2 separate regions of the Homo sapiens genome follow, and region 1 is linked to region 2. Evidence: promoter capture Hi-C in 16 types of primary human blood cells and fetal thymus (Javierre and others, 2016). All regions are on one chromosome and are shown on one strand. The core of a region is centred on a gene start or on the middle of the fragment in contact, and the rest is flanking DNA. Distances in the headings are between cores, read along the strand shown. Region 1 overlaps PRKAB1-AS1 (PRKAB1, TMEM233 and CCDC60 antisense RNA 1). Region 2 holds the start of FBXO21 (F-box protein 21).

The links. Contacts are between HindIII fragments. The CHiCAGO score rates a contact against its expected background, and 5 or more counts as called.
Region 1: a contact is called between a fragment that was not itself captured here and the fragment with the promoter of FBXO21 in region 2, in 1 of 17 cell types (non-activated CD4 T cells). The highest score is 6.3, in non-activated CD4 T cells.

What each region holds. Positions count from the first base shown.
Region 1 is chr12:119,661,680-119,664,976 of GRCh38, forward strand. All of the region lies in intron 1 of PRKAB1-AS1 (PRKAB1, TMEM233 and CCDC60 antisense RNA 1), which reads right to left. Among named protein-coding and RNA genes, the nearest start is that of PRKAB1-AS1, 4.8 kb to the right of the region's middle. The HindIII fragment of the contact is 1,101 bases long and covers 942-2,042 here.
Region 2 is chr12:117,188,215-117,191,750 of GRCh38, forward strand. FBXO21 (F-box protein 21) reads right to left here and starts at 2,256. Exons shown (of 12, transcript NM_015002.3): 1 at 2,004-2,256; 2 at 1,013-1,148. The coding sequence starts at 2,242. RefSeq lists an enhancer at 1,383-1,472 and silencers at 1,943-1,992, 2,273-2,372, 2,413-2,472. The HindIII fragment of the contact is 6,345 bases long and covers 984-3,536 here.

The sequences.
Region 1 (3,297 bases), core at 242-2,741, 2.5 Mb after region 2:
TATGTGGTTGAACTAGGATTTTCATGCAATTAGTGTGTCTTGGGAGGTGTTTCTGAGTATTTATTTGGAAGGTGCTCCTAAAAAGAGATAAAGAAAAGGAAAGGAAGATAATCAATGAATTCCTTGATCCAATTACTGCTGTGGACATCTAGGGTGCATTTCCACTGGGGACCTCTGAGACACGGTAGGGAATATATCTTAGTTATACGAGAGCTAAAAAGAAATTATTTAGACAGTTAGTGAGGGTAAGAGAGTCCTCAGTAAGGTTTTTCTTTTAATAAAAACGCAGTCTCCAAATCATTTCTTTTTTTAACAAAAAGCAGCCTGAAAAATCAAGCTGCAAGCATAGATAAGCAAGCTAGAGGCTTGCATAGGTAAATACCAGCAGCTGTGCCAATAGAAAACAGATAGCTGGAAACCAGGTATATTCAACATGGAGGTTCCCTCTTCCCTTTTCTTTGTTGCCACGTGTGCAGATAACATGGCACCAGCCAGGTTTTTTAAAATTCCATTTGCATAATAAAAGATTAGAGTGGGATGACCAGCCTCTTCACGGGCTATGAAAATGGCACATCTGGTCCAACCAATCCACTACACCCCATGTAAATCATATACCATCTCCTCACGCTCATCCCTAAAACCAACCACACCTTGCCCCAAACCAGGGAAACCCACTCAGGACCCCTTCTTCTGCATGAGGAAGCTCTCTTCCTTCTTTCATCTATTTAACTTTCCACTCTTAAACCCACTCCTTGCATGGCCATGTCTTCAATTTCCTTAGCATGAGACATCGAACCTCGGGTGTTACCCCAGAAAAATGACGCTGCTTCATTAGAGTTAGCACATCCAAGGGGCAAGGGAACTGGCTCCTCTGTGGTTGGCTGAGGGCTTCTCTCAGGGTGTCTTCTCTGGTCCCCTTGGGTTCCCACTTGTGTCGACAAAGCTTTCTCCAGAAGGCCCTCAGAGTTGCACCTGCTCACAGTTAGGAAGTTTGGGGCATGCGCAGAAGGGCACATGCAGATGGGGTATGATGGTCCCAACAGCATATGTTAAAGTGATTATGAAACTTTGATATTCAAATCCCTGGGAGCTTACATTTTAAAGAGATGAGACAGAGACAGACTTCCTCTCATTGTTTTCACCTCCGTTGGATCTTTGCCTGGATACTGCTTTAGTTTGTCACTTGTCCTCTAGAAAAGGGGTAGAAAGTGTACATCCTTTTCTCCTCCATTCCTTCAAAGCTCTTAAAAGAGGATAGAGATGCCAGGTGCAGTGGCTCACACCTGTAATCCCAGCACTTTGGGAGGCCGAGGAGGGTGGATCACCTGAGGTCAGGAGTTTGAGACCAGCCTGGCCAACATGGTGAAACCCCGTCTCTACTAAAAATACAAAAAGTAGCCAGGCGTGGTGGGGTGCGCCTGTGGTCCCAGCTACTTGGGAGGCTGAGGCAGAAGAATCGCTTGAACCCGGGAGACGGAGGTTGCAGTGAGCCGACATTGCACCACTGCACTCCAGCCTGAGTGAAAAGAGTGAAACTCCATCTCAAAAAAAAAAAAAAAGAGGATAGACTTGAGGTGAACTTTATTAAGAACATTGTGTTACCTTGAACTGGGCACTTCTCCCTTCTAGGTTTCAGCTTACCCTGTGAGTGAAGCTATTTATTTAAAAAAAACTTTATTGAAAATAAAATAAAGATACAGGAAACTACACAAAAGAAATGTATGGCTTAGTAAGTTACTACAAGGCAAACATGTTAATAATTACCAACCCAGGTCAAGAAACAGAATTTTCTCAGACAACCTAAAAGTCACAAAATGAGGCTATTTGCCAATTAAGGTTGTAGACCAAATGCTGTAGAATGAACTTCTTTTAATTCTATGTTGATGACTCTCTGTCACAATATTCACATCTCAGTGCAAAGAGAACACAAGAATGTCTAGCAAGAAAAGATGGACAAGTTTCTCAAACATTGGCAGTGTTACTTACATTGGCTAGGCAAAATTCAGAAGGCCTGGTGGAAATCTGGTTAAGCCCTAAAAGTAAGCTTGTAATTCTATCCTAGCAGCCCACACACATTTGAGTCTGTCTTAGTCAGCTCAGACTGCTATAACAAATCATCAACTGGGTGGCTTAAACAACAGAGATTTACTTCTCCCAGGTCCGAAAGCTGGAAGTCTAATATCAGTGATATAATTTGGATACTTTTCCCCCTAAATCTTACACTGAAATGTAATCCCATGTTGGAGGTGAGGCCTCCAACATGGTGGGAGGTGACTGCATCATGGAGGTGGACTTCTCATGAATAGTGTAGCACCATCGTCTTGGTGCTGCCCTCACAAGATCTGGTTGTTTAAAAGCGTGCGGCACCTCCTCCCACTTTTTTTCTTACTCCCACTCTTGCCATGTGATACATCAATACATCGGCTCCCCCTTGGCTTCCTGAGGCCTCACCAGAAGCAAGCAGATACCCAGAGCCATGCTTGCTGTACAGCCTACAGAACCATAAGCCAAGTAAACCTCTTTTCTTTATAACTTACTCAACCTCAAATATTTCTTTATAGCAATACAAGAATGGCCTAATACAATCAGGGTGCCAGGATGGTTGATGTGTGGTGAGGGCTCTTTCCCTGAGTTGCAGATGGCCGCCTTCTTGCTTTGTCATCACATGGCCTTTCCATTGAGCATGGGCGTGAATAGACAGCATGCGAGCAAGCTCTCCAGCGTCTCTTCTTCCCATAAGTACCCTGATCTCATCATGGGGGCCCCACTCTCATGAGCTCATCTAACCCTAATTACCCCTTGAAGGCCCCACCTCCAAACATTATAAAATTGGGAGTGGGAGTGCAAATGTATGAATTTTGGGGGGATACAATTTAGTCTACAGCATAGTCCAAATGTGAAATTTCTTCCTCCAGCTACCGATGTTTAGTGAGAACACTGCCTGTTCTCACCACATGTGCATATGTGTGTGGACTCTTTCCTCTGGAGGGCAAGAACTTGGTTTTGTTCACTGTTGTAACCAAGAGTTACAACAGTGCCTGGCTCATAATTGGCACTCAATATTGCCATTGAGTTATTTGTGATCAGAGCCCTGGCTGTTCTTAGATGGGGAGGGTTCTTCAGAACAGTACAAATGTTTGTAGACAGGCCAGCTGGGGAACCAAAGGTCTTTTTGATGAGGTGCCATGACCATGATGTAGTGGGGAGTGGCCAGGTGATCCAGAATTCAGTCTCAGTATGACCTATGATCATCTGAGTGACCTCAGGCAAAACTGTTCGATCTCTGGGACTTAGACT
Region 2 (3,536 bases), core at 1,006-3,505:
TCCAGAGTTACAAAAAGGGATCAGGGGCAGATACAGAAACTTCCGTGAGGCCAGGCACGGTGGCTCACGCCTGTAATCCCAACACTTTGGTTTGCAGAGGCCGGCGGATCACTTGAGACCAGGTGTTCAAGACCAGCCTGACCAACATGGTGAAACCCCAACTCTACTAAAAATACAAAAATTATCCAGGTATGGTGGCGCATGCCTGTAGTCCCGGCTACTCGGGAGGCTGAGACATGAGAATTGCTCGAGCCCAGGAGTAGGAGGTTGCAGTGAGCTGAGATTGCGCCACTGCACTCCAGCCGGGGAGACAAAGCAAGACTCTGTCTCAAAAAAAGAAAAAAGAAAGAAACTTCCATGAGACATTTTGAGGAAAGAAAAAAAGAAAACAAAACAAAACAAAACAAAAAAAACCCACCATGTATTTCTGCAATACTTAAAAAAAAAAAAAAACCCAAAAACTTTTCAGGGATAATGAATGCAAGACAATTCATTTCAGGGAGTAATAACTCTGATTTATAGGTAGCTTTTAATCCTCTGTTACCTTAACAAATAATGCAGTTCACTACTGGGTAGAACCTGCAAAGCCAGAGAGAAGAACCACATTAATTTCGTCAACCCTTCTGGGAAAACAACCGGGAGAAATTTACAGTGTTCAATCATTGATGATTCCCCAAATAACGGAGGGGTTGCAAAAAAAATCCGTTGAACCCATTTGAGAAATAATGCTGATCTGGACTCCGTCTACATTGTGCTGCGTGGGTCCCTCCCTGCTCCCTCCACCCCCACTCTCTCTCTGGCTTTAGAAAAGTAAAGCTGGCACAGACAAATGGCTTCGTGTTGTTGGATAGGAGGAAAAGGACACAATGACTCTTGCAGCCATCTAAGTGAGTAAGGGATTGTGAGAGCATTGAAAAGGGAGATACGAAAAGAGCTGGATGAGCTCATGCCTGCAGACCCAGACACATACACCAGCAAGCCAAAGCTTAGAGCCACATCAACAGATCCTTACGTGCTCTGAAAAGAACCTCTTTGAGAACGAGGCTACAATCTTCCGCGCTTCTAACCCAGCTTTTTGCCGAACTTTATACTCTTCCAACCAATTGACGTAGTCGGTGGGGCTGTAGTGTTTCATAAGGGAAGGCCACCTACGAGGAGAGAAACACCCCCTCAGCTTAACAGAAACTCAAAGGCAGGCGGCCACGAATCCAAGGCAGCCTTGGAAACAGGGACAGCAGTGGCGTCCAGTGGTAAGAGGGACCCCGGCGAGAGACCTAGTTCAAAACCCCACCAGCATTCACTCACTCACTCCCGGTGTGACCTTGGCGTAGCGGCATGAATGATGTCTCCATTCCCCATCTCTAAAATGGGGACAGTTGTAACAACAACAACAATAATAATAATGACAATGACAGTGAGCACTGATTGAGCGCCTCCTAGGAGCCGGGGCCCTGCGTGCGTGCCTCCCGGACATCATCTAATTTAATAAACACGGTGAAAGGTAGGTCTAATGATCACCACCACTCAAAGTCTATGAACGAGGCTCAAAAAAAGGGAAGTCGCTCCCCCCAAGGTCACAGAGGGAGTGTGCAGGGCCAGATTTCATCCTGGGGCCACGCTGAAATCTGTGCCGTCCACAACCAGCCCGGGGATGCTGCGCCCGCCCGATCGATGCATCACTGGGTCCATGTAAACATTTCAGCCCGAAGTCGGGCACAAAAGAAGCGCGCAAAAGGGACGAGCCGCGCCGCCGCCAGCGTCACCCTTGACGGAGGACCCGGCTGCGAGGCGCTCCTAGATGCGCCATTTGGGGACCCGGGGGTCCGCCTGGCGTGGCCCCGCAGGGTCCGGGGCCTGGAGGCCTTTGTCTGTCTGTCCGCGGGAAGGGGTCCGGGGTGGGGTCCGCGCGCGGGGCGGCCGCGGGGAGCTAGCGGGGCGGCTGCCCGGCCCCGGGGGGCGCGGGGCGGTGGGCGCGCAGCCGGGGCGCGGGGCCGCTGGCTCACCTCACCCGGAACTGCTCCTTCCACACCTTCCCGCTGCTCTGGCACAGCTCGCGCAGCCGCCGGCAGGTGCTGGAGACACGGCCGATGTCGGCGGCCGTCAGCGAGCCGCAGCACAGGATGTACTCCAGCACCTCACCCGGCAGGTTGACGAGGCAGCTGAGGCCCGCTACCTCCGGCGCGGCCTCCTCCGCCAGCGCCGGCACCACCTCCATCGCGCTGTCGACTGCTGCCGCCGCCATCTTGTCCGCGTACCTGGGGCCGCCGCGCGCGCGCGTGCGAGAGTGCCCGGGCGCCCCGCCTGGCCCCGCCTACTGGTCTTGGGGGCGAGTCCTGAGATCGCTCCGCCCATCCGCGGGCCACACCTCCCCTGCATCGGCTGGGGGCTGCGCGGGTGGCAGCGCCGCAAAAGGGAGGACATAATTGGGCTCTGTGCTTGGAGCCGGCAGCGCAAGCCGCCTCTAGTCCGGGACAACAATAGTAGCACTGATTCTTTTAAACGTAATTAATGTTTAAAATTAACAAATAAAAATGGTATCTATTCTCACGCGTGCTGAGCGCTTTCTGTGCGCATTGGACCTTTCCGAATTACCCTGCGAACTTTCTCCCCATATTACAGATGGGGAAACAGGTTCGGAGAGTGAGAGGGCTTGCTCAGGATCCCTTGTCTTGGATTTTTTTTCCCCCTTTGGGAAGGAGTCTTGCTCTCACCCAGGCTGGAGGGCAGTGGCGCTATCTCGGCTCACTGCAACCTCTGCCTCCTGGGTTCAAGCGATTCTCCTGCCTCAGCCTCCCGTGCGGATGGGATTACAGGCGCGCGCCACCACCCAGGTTGGAGTGCAGTGGCCGTGATCTCGGCTCACTGCAACTTCCACCTCCCTGGTTCAAGCAATTATCCTGCGTCAGCCTCCCGAGTAGCTGGGATTACAGGCGCCCGCCACCACAGCCAGCTAATTTTTGTATTTTTAGTAGAGACAGGGTTTCACCATGTTGGTCAGGCTGGTCTCGAACTCCTGACCTCAAATGATCCACCCACCTCGGCCTCCCAAAGTGCTGGGATTACAGGCGTGAGCCACCGCGCCCAGCCCCTTGTCTTGGATTCTATTTCAGATCCACTTGACTTTTGCTTGTCAGTAATCTTAACCATATGATGTAATAATAACAATATTCTTGAGTGGGTGCTATGGGAAGCCCTCTATGATGGTGTAGGGGAGTAATAATAATCCTCAAATGTGTGCCCTGATTTTAGGCTAATAGAGGGCAGGCAGAGAGCTCTCCTGTACTGGTTTCTTAATTGTTTCCAGCTCAACAATCCTTCATATTTGGGGAGCATAGTCTGACCTCCCACAATAGGTACCACAGTTATACCTATTCTACAGAAAAGGCAAAGTTCTTCCAGGTGGCAGTCACTGGTTCAAAGTTACAGAGACAAAAGTGCTAAAGCCTGGATTTGAGTCTTCAAAGCGGGAGTTATCACTCAGGATTGGGAGGGTAGTCTCAGGATCTGCACATTAAAAAAAAAAAATCAGTTTAGTT